5 separate regions of the Homo sapiens genome follow, and regions 1, 3, 4 and 5 are each linked to region 2. The links are contacts of gene promoters, found by promoter capture Hi-C in blood cells and fetal thymus (Javierre and others, 2016). All regions are on one chromosome and are shown on one strand. The core of a region is centred on a gene start or on the middle of the fragment in contact, and the rest is flanking DNA. Distances in the headings are between cores, read along the strand shown.

Region 1 (2,700 bases), core at 62-2,561, 150 kb before region 2:
TACGGAAACAAACAATAAACCCATCCCTGTGATATTCCCAGACCTACCCACCCACTCCCTAATATTCAAAATAATATTGAGGGAATAAAATGGAAGCAATGTCATCATGAGATGGGAATTAATGTTTTAATTTGGTAGACAGAGAACTTGAGGTTCTAAGAACTTGCTGTTTTCAAGTTCACAGAAGTTCAAGTCCTTCAGGGGTTCTGTTGTAGCGATTTTGAGAACATAGAAAAGTTGTTCAAGGTTATGGACATTCATTTCAAGAATTCTAGATCTTAGGGAGCCTCCCTCTTTAACAAGTTCTCAGACTCTGAAGAATTGGAAGGATTAAACTTTACACCTAATTTTTTTCTTTAAAAAAGGTCAAATTAAAATTTTCTTAAAATTGTAACAGTCATAGAAGTCCTCAATGTCACATGGTTTCTTTAGAAACAGATTCCCTTCCACCCTCTAGAGAGATTGTTAGGGAAGCTGTTTGCATTACAAATGACTACCAGCAAATATTTTCATCAGAAGACAAGGGAATCTCACTAGAAATTCAGGAAATCAGAGATATGGAAAGGTCTATATGTTTCCAAGATAGCTCACCTTTAATTTTGCGGAGAAAACAAATTTGCTCTTGCTCAAGAGAGTTCTATAAAACAAAGCTTTTCCAAGAATTTTTTCTTTAAAGAAAGTGGAAAAAAAGCAGAAACTAGTATATGGGGACAGTGAGGACAGAAATTGTGTTCCTTAATTAAAATATTAATGAGCAGTCTGCTCACCACAACAAATGTAACTATGCAGTCAAAACAGACATGTCTTGAAATGGGAGACAACCAAGCATCTGTAAGGAAAAAAAAAAAAAGCAGAGAAATAGAAACATGTGCTGCTCCCAAACATTTCTTAGGCCATCTCCTAAATCCCAGTATTTTCATTCACCAGGTCTGGAGGGGACATTAGAGATTCTTCCATTCTGACCAACACGCTCAGAAGAAGCAGTGTGAAGCTGTTTTCAGGGAGCCCATCCACCACTTCTGGAGACACTCGCTTTTCAGGTGCACCGTCTTTGTGGAATCTGTCTCAGCTCCCCAGGCAGAGAGCAGGGGCTCCTCCTCTATGTTCCAGAGCCCTTCTTCCCAGAGCTCTTTTGCTATGTGCCGCAATTGCATTATTATTTTTTACATGTCCATGAGCACTAGTTGATAAGACGACAAGAACCGTTTGCCAATGTATTGCAATGGACTGAATGTTTGTGACCCACTCTCCAAAATTCTTATGTTGAAATCCTAATCCTTGATATGGTTGTATTAGGAGGTAGGGCCTTTGGGAGGTGATTAGGTCATGAGGGTGGAGCCCTTATGAATAAGAATAGTGCCCTTATAAAAATGACCCCAGAGAGCTCTCTCCTCTTTCTGCCATGTGAGGATACAGCCAGAAGTTGGCAGTCTGTAACCCAGAAGAGCATCCTCGCTGGAACGCCGCCTTGATGGCACCCTGATCTCAACTTCCAGCCTCCAGAACCGTGGGACATAAATTTGTTGTTTAGAAGCCCCGCCAGTCTATGGTACTTGGTTACAGCCGTTCAAGCTAAAATAGTGGGTGTTATGATCCTGACTCGTAAATGGGTGTCAGTACATGGATTGCTCAATTAGATGTTACATTAATGCATGAGGAAAATAAGATCCAGACGTGTTAATTGACTTACCTAGAGCATGCAGCTGTGTATCAAATTAAATCTCCTCAAAAGCCTTAAAAAATTTCTGGATATATAATCCAGCAAAAGGTTTTATCCTAACAAGAAAAACAACATAATACATTCAATCTTAGCCAAAAGGCCAAAAAGTGATGAAAAACTTCATAATGAAGCTGGCATAACCATAGTCCAGAACCCAAATGTGTGCTTCAAATTAGCTGTGTTCTCTTTTAATATTTAAACAATAACCCTGCGCTCACTGTGCTCAACAATGCGGAGAGAATTTGAAGCTTCTGAGCGAATGCAAAAAGCAATTCCATTCAGTGTTTCAACATGTGCGTACCACTTTGTGTCCTGTGAACAAGGACACAAAGATGAATGAGGTGGATCTTGGGCCCTGAGGAGCTTGTCATCTACTAAGCACTTAATGCAGAAGCCAGGGATTCCTTTATTTTTTAAAATAAATACAATTTTTCAAGAAAAAAATTTTCCACAGAAAAATAAGAGATATAATTTATTTATTTTTTCTTTTCTTTTCTTTTTGTTTTTTTTTTTGAGACAGACTCTCGCTCTGTCGCCCAGGCTGGAGTGCAGTGGCGCGATCTCGGCTCACTGCAAGCTCCGCCTCCCGGGTTCACACCATTCTCCTGCCTCAGACTCCTGAGTAGCTGGGACTACAGGCACCCGCCACCACGCCCGCCTAAATTTTTTGTATTTTTAGTAGAGATGGGGTTTCACCGTGTTAGCCAGGATGGTCTTGATCTCCTGACCTCGTGATCCTCCCACCTTGGCCTCCCAAAGTGCTGGGATTAGAGGCGTGGGCCACCGCACCCGGCCGATATAATTTATTTTTTGAAAAGTTAAAGAGAAGTTGAAGAAGAAGACACACTAAAGGAAGAGAACAAGAGTGATTCCAAGTTCTGGTACCCTACCTAGGGGGGCCTTGCTGCTCTCGGGCAGCCTGGAGCTTGTCAAGTGCTCTTCATTGCTTTGGGACAAATGGGGGTGTTGTCAGTGTCCTT
Region 2 (2,700 bases), core at 113-2,612:
GAATTAAAGGCCTTTATCTGTAAAAATAACCTCATCAGATTGTTATGATTTTAAAATAAAAACACCTTCACACCTCCTAGAAGACTCCAAGGTGTAAATATCCTCTTTAAATGTACCAGTAAGTAGACTAAGTCCTAGAAGAGTATAATTTTTTTTTTTTACAAATAAAGTTTATTGTACTGTTTGGGGGATGGTATATTTATTACTGCTAAAAAAATTACCATTTTGAATTGCTAATTGGCTATAACAAAGATCAGTAATACAAATTTAAAACATTCATAAAACTGAGCTGAAAACATGCTCCCAAGCCTAGTGGGCAGTAAGGAATCTGGCCAATATACTGTACAACTTGAACATTCAGTTCTTAAGTAGTTTACAACATGGTTTAGCCCTCTTTTAATAATAATAATAAAAAGGTAGGAATATCTTGTATTCCTCCCGCTAGTTGGATGTATTAAAGTGCTTTCACAAAACTAAGACCATGGTGTTAACTCAATATAAAAGGTTGAAAAGATGTTCCTTCTTTTCTTCAGAAAGTTAATGTTCCCTCTCCATATTTGTATTTGCTCAAAGATGAAGCTTTGCATCTGGGAAGTCCTTGAGTAGAGTGTCTCAGAAATAGAAAGCCTGGACTCTCAAGGCTTCATTCCTTTGGCCAACATCTTTGGAGCCTCTCCTTTATGCAAAACACAGTGGCCGGTGCCAGGGCAGCACACAAGCGTCCACAGGAGGCAGGCCCTGCTGTGAGGGGCCAGGGAAGGGCCCAACTAGGAGTGCCAACAACCGCCTAAAATACAGCAGGGCGGCTGCACGGTTAACGTGCGTGTAATTGACTACAGCAAGAAGGATGAGGATCTGTCCATAAATGCCAAGTTCCCCTTCCCGTCGAGTCCGTGTCCCCCATGAAGCCCCGGGTCTAGAGAGCTGGGTCTAGAACTCGCCATTCCGCCCTGAGGGTGTCAAGTGCAGCGTGGAGAGACCTGAGGGGGAAACAAAAAGGCCGAGACAGCCGAAAGGACCAAGCCCGCGCGACCCCCGAAGGCGCTGACGCACGTAGGGCGGCCGGGCGGGGGTCCCACAGGCCTTCAGCGCCGCTTTTTGCCGGGGAGGGAAGCCCGCGGTTCTGCGGACCGCGCCGTCGCGGTCGAGGGTCTGCGCCAGGCTCAGGGTAGGGCGAGGGTGTGTCGCCTCCCGTGCGGCTAGGCCCGGGGCTCGGGGGTGGCCTCGCGGCGAAGCCCCGCCCCCGGCACCGCCCCTCAGGCGCGCGAGCCGATCCCGCGCGCGCCAACCCTTTCCCGGGTCATCGCCCCTCCCCTCTTCCGGGCCGCGAGCCCCCTGCGCGCCGCTTTGGGGCTGCGCTCACTCGTGTGCGCGCTCGTCCGCCCGCCAGTCCTCTCAACGCGCGCTTGGCCGCCCGACGACGCGGGAGCCGCACGCGCCGGACGAGGCTCGCTGCGCTCCCTGTTGCCCAGCGCGGGCCCGTTGAGGCGGAGCCCTCAGTTCCCGGCCAGGACACGGTCTGGGCCGCCGAATCTCCGGCCGAAGAGCGGCGGCGGCAGCGGCGGTGAGGAGACCGGGCCGGGGAAAGGCAGACATGGCGGGGCTGTGGGTATCGGGGGAGGGTGGTCCCGTCGCCCCTGCGGCCACGTCGAAGGCTCGCTGGCGGGCGGCGCACCGGGGACAGGGGAGGGGCAGGGGATGGAACCAGGTTGCATGGGCTCCGGCTCGGCGCCAGAGCGGGGCTGCGGGCCGCGAGGGCGGCCCGCGAGGCTTTCCGCGGGACCCTCGGCGGGCGCCTGAGGAAAAAGACGCCGCCTCAGGGCTCCTGCCACGTTTCCCACAGCGCGTTACATTCCGCCTCCGGGTGGGCGACAACCCCGCGGCTTCCCACCCTCTGTCCACCCCCTTCGCGTCGGTGTTTTTTCTGGAGCTCCGCTTGTTTGCTGGAGAGTCGCGCCTCCGGGAAGCCGGGTCCTCGAACCCAGGGCCGCCCGCCGGGGACAGCGGACCCGCGGGGCAGGCGCACCCTGGCGAGGATGTTGTCGGGGAGGCTGGGCATTGGGCGCCAGGGCCCTTCCCCTTGAACTTGGGGAAAACCGGGATTGCAGAAGTTGGGCGCAGCTCAAGGCGGTTCTTTCAAGAGCGGGTGGAGATGTTTGATCCCTCCTCACCTACCTCTCTCAAAACCCCAGCGGGAGAGCCTAGCAGCAGGTTTCGATGGCTTCAGAAAGTCCAACTCTTAGCCCCTTGGAAAATTATTTCCCCTCTTCATGGCTTTGTGGCGCCGCTGAGGTCGGGCCGGGGCTCCTCACCCCACGGGCCAGTCTTCTCGCGCCCTCCACCTTGGGAACGTCTATCAGGAGAAAAATGTGTTCCTAGAAACGTTTGCGATTAGCTTTTCGTTACAAGGGAGGGAAAAGTACAAAAGTTATAAACTCCTGCGAGGCCGAGCTTGATTCTGGATTCCCTTTGGGTTTTATCCACGCAGCCGTGAGCAGAGGAGCCTTGTGGAACAAAGTAGAACTTGAGGAGCAGCCGCCGCGGTGACGAGGTCCCAGGATGACGTCACCGTGCGATATTTAAAATGGGAGCCTTTTGCTCTGAGTGTGGGTGGAGGACGCCTACTTACTCAAGACGCCTGAGGTCTTCTTGGCCCTGCTTGCCTCTGGTGGTTCTTGCCCTGACTGTAACTCTCCCTCT
Region 3 (2,700 bases), core at 60-2,559, 220 kb after region 2:
TTGAAATATGTTAGCATTTTTTTCTTTTTCACTGTTTTTTTCCACCTCCACCCCCACGTTGTTCCTATCCATATGTCTGTGTAGATGAATGGGCTCCTGAGAGTTAACAGCCTGGAGGGCTGCACAAAGTCAAGCTTCCTTTGTTGTGAATACAGCCTAGAGCAGCTGGGAGATATTATTGCGGACACCATACCAGCAATGAGGTCATTTTGTGTCTTCCAACATCCTTTGAGAAGAGCGCGTAGCTATTGTGCCCAGTGAATGCTAGAGTGGAAATCCAATCATACCTACCAGGGCTGAGGGTGTTGTCCTATAGTCTGACAGTGAATGTCTGTTCCTTAAGATAAGGCAACTGGCTTTATGCCTTTAAAAGCTACCTTTTCAAACACTGAGGTGCCTATATCCTTATTAGTTCTTTAGAGATGTTTGGGGCAGATTTCCTCAAGCCATAATCTAATGATTATAATAAAACTATTGTGCTCCAGGAGCTCTTTCTATTTCCCTCTCTCTCTAAATTAAATTACATTTTTTATTTTATCTTTTATTTTATTTTTTCGAGACAGCATCTTGCCCTGTCATCCAGGTTGGAGTGCAGTGGTGCGATCATGGCTCACTGCAGTCTCTACCTCCTGGGATCAAGCGTTCCTCCCATTTCAGCCCCCTGAGTAGCTGGGATTACAGAAGGGTGCTACCATGCCTGGCTAATTTTTTTTTTTTTTTTTTTTTTGAGATGGAGCCTTAAAAGGATCTTGAGACAGGATCTTGCTCTGTCACCCAGGCTGGAGTGCAAGTGGAGTGATCTCAGCTCACTGCAACCTCTGCCTCCTGGTTCAAGTGATTCTCCTGCCCCAGTCTTCTGAGTAGCTGGGATTATAGGTGTGCACGACCACACCTGGCTAATTTTTGTATTTTTAGTAGAGACGGGGTTTCACCATGTTGGCCAGGCTGGTCTCGAACTCTTGACCTGAAGTGATCTGCCGGCCTTGACCTCCCAAAGTGGTGGGATTACAGGCGTGAGTCACCATGCCTGGCCTTTAAAAATTTTTTTTTGTAGAGACAGGGTCTCACTGTGTTGCCCAGGCTGGTCTTGAACTCCTGGGCTCAAGCAATCCTTCTGCCTTGGCCTCCCAAAGTGCTGGGATTACAGGTGTGAGCCACCATGCCCAGGCTTATTTTATTTTACTTTAGAGAAGGGGCCTTCTATGTTGTCTAGGTTGGTCTTGAACTCCTGGGATCAAGTGATCCTCCTGCCTCAGCCTGCCAAGTAGCTGGGACTACAGGTGTGCACCACCATGCCTGGCTTTGTATTTTAATTTTTATGAAGATAATCTTGTGTATAGTTAAAAAGGTCAAATAGCTTATGCTGAAAAAAAGGGCTTGCTTGTTCCACCTTTCCCATTTCATGAAAACAAAACTATACCTAAGAGGCAATACCACACTTAACACTTTTATTTATTTTCCTACATTTTAAAAGTAATACACTTTTACTTCTATTTTTTGATTTTCTGTTTTAGATGTCATCTATTTATTTCCTAGTATAGAATATAAAATTTATTATGTTTTATGCCTGTCTACCTTCCCCAACATACTCCTCCCATTTCTCCCCTTTGCCAATATATTTAGTCACAATTTTTTGGGTAAGTCAACATCTAGAGTTTACCTTATTGTTTTATGTGTAATTATTTTCAGAGATGAGTCACGCAGTGGTTGGACAACAATTCTTCATGGGTCATTTATATTTCTGCACATTTTAAGGGCACAGGTAGTGACAGGTTTTGTTCCAGACTGCGATTTCCAGGATATAAATATAGTGAATAGCCTTGGACTATAGAGACAGCATCTCCCTCCAGAGCAGATGACAGGTGTGTTTGCTATCCAGTATGGTAAAGATAATGTCTTCCACGGGGCCAAAAGTCATGTAGGTTTGCTTTCAACCCATTATAAAAGACTGAGGTTCCCCAAGCTCAGGGTTTTTTAGCTGTGATACAAACCCACTGCATATGCAGCATCTGCCTTGGATACTCTTTGTCACCACCATGGGAACTGGAGGGCAAGGGGAACCAGAGTGACCATAAAGCTCATATTGCTTACTGTTTTGTGAGTAATAAAATCCTTTGCCTCTGACCTGGGAGTCTCAGGTCTTTCCCCAGCATCCATGAAACTATGGCAGGCTAACTTGTTGGCTTGCAAATAAGATGAAGTCTCAGACCATTCCCAGTTCTTTATCGTAGTAAACTCTGGCTTCATTTCCTTTCTTGTACTTTCCTTGTACTTATACTTCTCAGGCTTAATATTTTGTGTGTGTGTGTGTGTGTGTGTGTGTGTGTGTGTGTGTGTGTGTTTTCTTTGCTAAGTTTGTACATCCTGATGAGATACAGTGGGAAAAGCATAGCATAGTTTCCGTAATATTCCTGTGAAGGATACCTGTCCTGTGTCTGCTCCCGAGAAACACTGTGATGGTCATTACATGGAATATGAAGCTTTTACTCTTTATTTTAATTCAATTTTATTTTTTTGAGATGGAGTCTCGCTCTGTCACCAGGTTGGAGTGCAGTGGCACGATCTCGGCTCACTGCAACCTCTGCCTCATCGGCTCAAGGGATTCTCATGCCTCAGCCTCCTGAGTAGCTGGGACTACAGGCACGCCCCACCACACCCAGCTAGTTTTTTTGTATTTTTAGTAGAGATGGGGTTTCACCG
Region 4 (2,700 bases), core at 15-2,514, 240 kb before region 2:
CAACCTGCGTGCGCATGTCAGAGCCAATAATAATCCCGAAAGACACGATCCCCAATGCCATAGTCTCAAATGGAAAGCAATTAGAGTTATTTAAAGTTCATCCAGAATACTCTGTTGAGAATAGACTGAAGGGTAATCAAGCTGGAGCTGGAAGGCAAGTTAGGAGGCTGTTGCAACAATGTGATAAAGAAGTGAGAGTGATTTGGATGAGGGTGGTAGCAGAGGAGCTACTGCAGACAGGGAGTGGGGACAGTATTTTGAAAGTAGAGCAAACAGGATTTGCTGACAGATTAGATATGGGATGGGATAGAATGAGAGGAGTCAAGAGCAACTCTGAGGTTTTTGTCCTGAGCAACTGGAAGAAGGGAATCCATTAATTGAGAAGAAGATAAGAGGAGAAGCAGGCTTGAGGTCAGGGGTGTGAGGTGAAGGGGAAAGTCAGGAGTTAGGTGATGGATATGTGGGTGGGCAATGAATGGGTCATGTGGATCTCGAGTTCAGAGGCAAGTTTGTGAGACTTCAGTATAGAGATGATATTTAAAACCATGGCCTAGATGCCATGCACCAATGCAGTGAGCACCAATAGAAGAATTCCAAGCCACTTTGGAAAATAGTCTGGCAATTCCTCTATACACAGAGTTACCATATGATTTGGCAATTCCCCTCCTAGGTATATATCCAGGACAAGTGAAAACATGTGTCCACACAAAATCTTGTGCATGAATGTTTACAGAAGAAGAATTCACAGTAGCTAAAAGATGGAAACAATCCAAATTATCATCAACTGGTGAATGGATAAAGTATGGTATAGCTGTTCAATAGAATATTATTTGGTAATTAAAAGGAATGAAGTACTTGTACATACTACAATGTGGATGAACCTTGAAAACACGTTAAACAAAAGAAGCCAGTCACAAAAACTAGAGTTGGGCCATAATACCAAAAGACATAATTCTAAACACCATAATATCAGAAATCACAATCTTAAAAATTGAAAATTCTAAAAATATAATTCTGGAAAAAAATTTAATTTTCTTTAAAAGAAAATTATTTATGCTTGTAAAAAAGATTTATTTGAGCAACATATAAAAACATGACAGAATACTTCATAGTATACAATAAAATACATGATAAAGTTGTATAAAGTTGCCACTTTATACAATAAAATAGGCAACAATAACATTTTTATAAGCATAAGAACTCAGATATACTAACAACAGAAACATGGGTATAACAGTTATAAGCAGATGAACCATATTCATAAATAGGTCCAAAAGAAAATGTATAAACGCATATCACTATGGTTGGTAATTGTGTGCATCCAGTTTTATAACTGTGGTCATCTGAAATACCATGACAGATGACCTATGTCTTTTGATGAGATCGATAAGAAACCACAATGTGTCACCACTACATATGTAATCGCCTAGAGAGTTGAGATCTCAAGAAGTTTTATCTTTCACAAATGCAGATGTACAAAAAGGACATCCCTTCATTTATTGAGGAAGTTTCAATGTTTTTATGTACATGTGCAATGTCTCACACACAAGGTCAACATTGTGATAATGCACTTTCATGCAGTCAAATTTGCAAAAAAAAAAAATTGCATAAAACAAATTAGAACACTCTAAAGTCTTTACACAAAAGACCACATATTATATGATTACATATATATGAAATGTCCAAGATGGGTTTAAGGGGGATAATGAGAATGTTCTAAAATTGATTATGGTAATGGTTGAATAACTCTGAAATGCACTAAAAGCCCTTGAATTGTACAATTCAAATGGTTGATTTGTATGCCATGTGAATTACATCTCAATAATATCATTTTAAAGAGGAAAGTTCTAAGATTTGAGTCCTAGGGCCATTGACTATTTAGAGATTTGTGATACTTATTAAACATCCAAGATGAAATTCTGAATAGGAGTTTGAGTATGTAAATTTGAAGTTCAGGAGAGAGGTCTGGGCATAAGAAATCAATTTGAGAGTCCTTAATATATGGATAGTATTTAAAACCATTGTACTAGCTGACATCACCTAGAAAGTGAGTGTAGAAAATAAATAGAAGAGACCTGAGACATTGTTCAGGGCACACCAATGGTTAGAGGTTAGAAATAGATAAAAGGACAAGCAAATAAGCCTTAAAAGGAGGGGGCCAGTAAAGCAAGACCTTGACAGAGATCACCTCTGTCAAATGCTGCCAACAGTTCAAGTAAGATGAAAACTAACAACCATCGCTGGTTTTAGCTATGTGAAAGTCAATAGCAATTTGACAAGAGCTGTTTTGTAAGAGGCACGAGAATGAATGCCTGATTAGAAAATGAGAGACAAGCAAATTGCAGATATCAAGTAGATATAACTATTGAGAAGAGTTGCCTTTTACAGGAGCAGAGAAGTGATCCAGTAACTGCAGGGGAATAAAGAGTCTGGAAAATTGTCTTCTCTCTTAAGATAGGAAAAATAATAGCATTTATAAGCTCATGGAAATGATGAAGCAATAGAGAAAACATGATGTTACAAGAAGAGAGATGCCTGCTGCTGATGTGATGTCCTCGAATACATGAGAGAGAATAGAAACTGGTGAAGGAGTGGAGAGGGCTGGAGTGTAGAGAGCTTGCTGCTAGTGAAAAGCAGAGTATGTGGGCACAGAGCAAGCGGGTGGGTAGCAATGCTGGCAGCAAAATGCAGGACATGTTT
Region 5 (2,700 bases), core at 87-2,586, 220 kb before region 2:
AACTCAGTCTATTTGTAACATATGGTCAATTTTTCAGCATTTCCATTGGACATACTACCCTCCATCTTCCAGACTAGTAGAACACACAAATGGGATAATAAGAAAATAAATTGACAAAGCTTATAGAAACATTTAACTTTCCCTGGCCTAAGGCTCTTCCATTGTTATTGCTTAACTTACATTCTACCCAATTGGAAAACATCAGCTTTTTCCCTTTGAAATGATACCAGGAAGCCCCATGTGCCTGGATGAAGGAGTCTATAAACCAGCTCTCTTTAAAGATGATAGTCTTCATTATTGCCAAGGCATTAAAAAGCATTTCACTAAAAATTCTAAATTAATTGAGGATTCTTTTAACAGCAAGCTCTTGGGAGTTTATGACATCAAATATCATGGCTTCCAACTTTGAGATTTTTGGATTCCCTGTAATCATGTTGGAAGAAGCTATATCAAGTATTACTTATCAATACTTGTGCAGCTAAACTCAAAGGCATTGACTCATGGATTTACATTTCTCATTTTAAAAAGGTAGCCCTGCGTGAGTAGGCATCTTCCATCATCAGAGATCTCCAACTGAAGCTGACCTGCAGCCAGTCACCTGGTTCTTCAGACCAGGACAAGAAATTGAAACTCAGTTTAAAAAGATCACTCAAAAGGCTAAATGGCTACAAGATGACCCATGGTTGGAAAGACAGACCCCTTATATGATTTATTTGACTGGTTACCTTCAGGTATTGGAATATTTCTCACATTTGGATTTCAAATTGTTTAATTAGTAATTGTCCTTATTTGTGTCATATTTTTGATTCTTAAATCAATTATGCTTTGCATTTCTCTATCTAAAGTGTTTGTTGACAGAAACTAAACTCATGATAGCTAGATGCATAGAAATTATTCAACACGCCATACTTCCTTTGTAAGTGGATGAAATCCTGAGACCCAATTCCTCTGCCCCTTTGTGTTGCCAGTTAATTTAGCCTAAGACTTCACTAAATTCTTAAGCTGTAGTGCCTCTCCTCTTTCCCTCCAATGTAGAGAGAGATTACCCGGGAATGAGCCTTCCTAGCAATATGGGGAAAAGCTACGTTTAAAATGTTGATTATCAATGCTTTCAGAAGAGGAAGATCTCAATCAAAAAGGGGAAATGAGAAGAAAAGTAGCTCAGAGATGTCTGAGCTATGTGAGGTATGCAAAATGTATCAGATCCAGAGAGACATGAGTATTGAAAGCCAACTTGTAACTACTGCTAATCAAAGCATATATTCATGGCAACTTGAATCTGTGTCTCCTTGGTTGCAGTCCCCAAATTTGGCCCAAATAAATTCTCGACTTATGTTAATTTGCCTCAGTTTCTTTCTTTAGTTGACGAAAGGCACTATGAAAATCAAAATATTCTTTGGTATAGGCAGGGTTGCTAGCTTTATTTCCTCTGAATTTTAATAACCTTTTCTTATTTCTAGATATGAGATAATCTATTTTTTGTTTCATCACAGACATATATATGAGTAGTTCCTCTTTTTAAAATCACAGGTTTACATGTATTAAATGTGACAATTTCCCCTCTATATCTGTTAACTATATTTATCCATCATATGTCACAAATCAAAACAAAGGGAACTGTCAAATACCATTAGAGAACTTGGTAATCACAAAGTAGACAAGAACAAAAAGTGGAAATTCCAAAATCATTCTAGAAAAGAGGAAAAAAATAGGGATACTTAAGACTTAAAGATACTTAAAACAAACTTTAAATACATAAAGCAAACTAAGAGTAGCTCCTGAACAGCTTCCACATGCATATAAATTAATTCTCCTGTTATGTCTGTGGGAAAACAGTATATTACCTTTTCTTCCCACATAAACTTTCTTTCCAAACTTTTTTTGACCCTTTAAATGGAATATATCATTTTCATTATTTGGTTATGAAATATACAGAAGGTACTCGGGAAGCAGCAATGGAAGAGGCAAAAGCATTCTTGGCCCTCAGGAAACTTACAGTCTACCGGGCAATACCAACATTGAATGAGCAATTACAAGTACAATACAAAAGGAGCTTATACTTGGGGAGCTAACCTCTCATGGAGGGATGAGATTTAAAACTATTTTTATTGCCATCCTATGCATTATTAAGGAAACAGGGAAAGCTCAGGAAAGAATTACATTACAACAACATTTGAAGAAGGGTAAAGCAGAAGGGGAAAACCACAGCTTTAGACTTGAAATAGACAACGTATTCCAATCCAAGATTTCAGGTGCTTTCAAAAAGTAACTCAAATTTTATTTTTACTTAATTCCTTTATTTATATATATAAACCTGAAATTAAGCCAAAAAGCATGCTATGAGACCCAAAAAAACTCACATGCTACTCAACCAACCAAAAGTGTTTAGGACTTAAATGGGACAAAAGATTTCAATAGCACTAACAGCTCAAGGAATGTATGTTAAACCTTTTGTTTTACATCCAGAAAATTAGAAAACTGGGCTAAATATTGTATATATCAGAAGGTTTTAAAAATAATTTGTATGATTTAATTTTACCAAAGAAAGCTTACTCATTTAAAGACATTTTTATACCAGCCCTTTATATTATCAGTGGAAACTGTTTATTAAGAGGGAGTAGTATGGGGGCCGGGCGTGGTGGCTCACGCCTGTAATCCCAGCACTTTGGGAGGCCGAAGAGGGCGGATCATGAGGTCACG

Evidence for each region. Contacts are between HindIII fragments. The CHiCAGO score rates a contact against its expected background, and 5 or more counts as called.
Region 1: a fragment that was not itself captured here is called in contact with the fragment with the promoter of BTG3 in region 2 in 1 of 17 cell types (activated CD4 T cells); the score reaches 6.8 in activated CD4 T cells.
Region 3: a fragment that was not itself captured here is called in contact with the fragment with the promoter of BTG3 in region 2 in 9 of 17 cell types (monocytes, total CD4 T cells, M1 macrophages and 6 more); the score reaches 7.3 in monocytes.
Region 4: a fragment that was not itself captured here is called in contact with the fragment with the promoter of BTG3 in region 2 in 1 of 17 cell types (activated CD4 T cells); the score reaches 6.2 in activated CD4 T cells.
Region 5: a fragment that was not itself captured here is called in contact with the fragment with the promoter of BTG3 in region 2 in 5 of 17 cell types (activated CD4 T cells, total CD4 T cells, total CD8 T cells and 2 more); the score reaches 8.5 in activated CD4 T cells.

The regions. Positions count from the first base shown.
Region 1 is chr21:17,765,926-17,768,625 of GRCh38, reverse strand. The region is part of intron 2 of LOC124900465 (a long non-coding RNA gene); the gene reads right to left. Among named protein-coding and RNA genes, the nearest start is that of C21orf91-OT1, 25 kb to the left of the region's middle. The HindIII fragment of the contact is 1,318 bases long and covers 653-1,970 here.
Region 2 is chr21:17,611,563-17,614,262 of GRCh38, reverse strand. It overlaps BTG3 (BTG anti-proliferation factor 3), which reads left to right and starts at 1,362. Exons shown (of 5, transcript NM_006806.5): 1 at 1,362-1,564. BTG3-AS1 (BTG3 antisense RNA 1) reads right to left here and starts at 2,577. Exons shown (of 1, transcript NR_149073.1): 1 at 149-2,577. It also overlaps a transcript of CXADR not described here. The HindIII fragment of the contact is 7,083 bases long and covers 582-2,700 here.
Region 3 is chr21:17,391,149-17,393,848 of GRCh38, reverse strand. No RefSeq gene overlaps it. Among named protein-coding and RNA genes, the nearest start is that of LINC01549, 46 kb to the left of the region's middle. The HindIII fragment of the contact is 2,346 bases long and covers 137-2,482 here.
Region 4 is chr21:17,853,674-17,856,373 of GRCh38, reverse strand. The region is part of intron 1 of LINC03147 (long intergenic non-protein coding RNA 3147); the gene reads left to right. The region is part of intron 2 of LOC124900465 (a long non-coding RNA gene); the gene reads right to left. Among named protein-coding and RNA genes, the nearest start is that of LINC03147, 31 kb to the left of the region's middle. The HindIII fragment of the contact is 5,733 bases long and covers 1-2,700 here.
Region 5 is chr21:17,833,655-17,836,354 of GRCh38, reverse strand. It overlaps LINC03147 (long intergenic non-protein coding RNA 3147), which reads left to right. Exons shown (of 3, transcript NR_024354.1): 3 at 529-683. All of the region lies in intron 2 of LOC124900465 (a long non-coding RNA gene), which reads right to left. Among named protein-coding and RNA genes, the nearest start is that of C21orf91, 16 kb to the right of the region's middle. The HindIII fragment of the contact is 2,429 bases long and covers 122-2,550 here.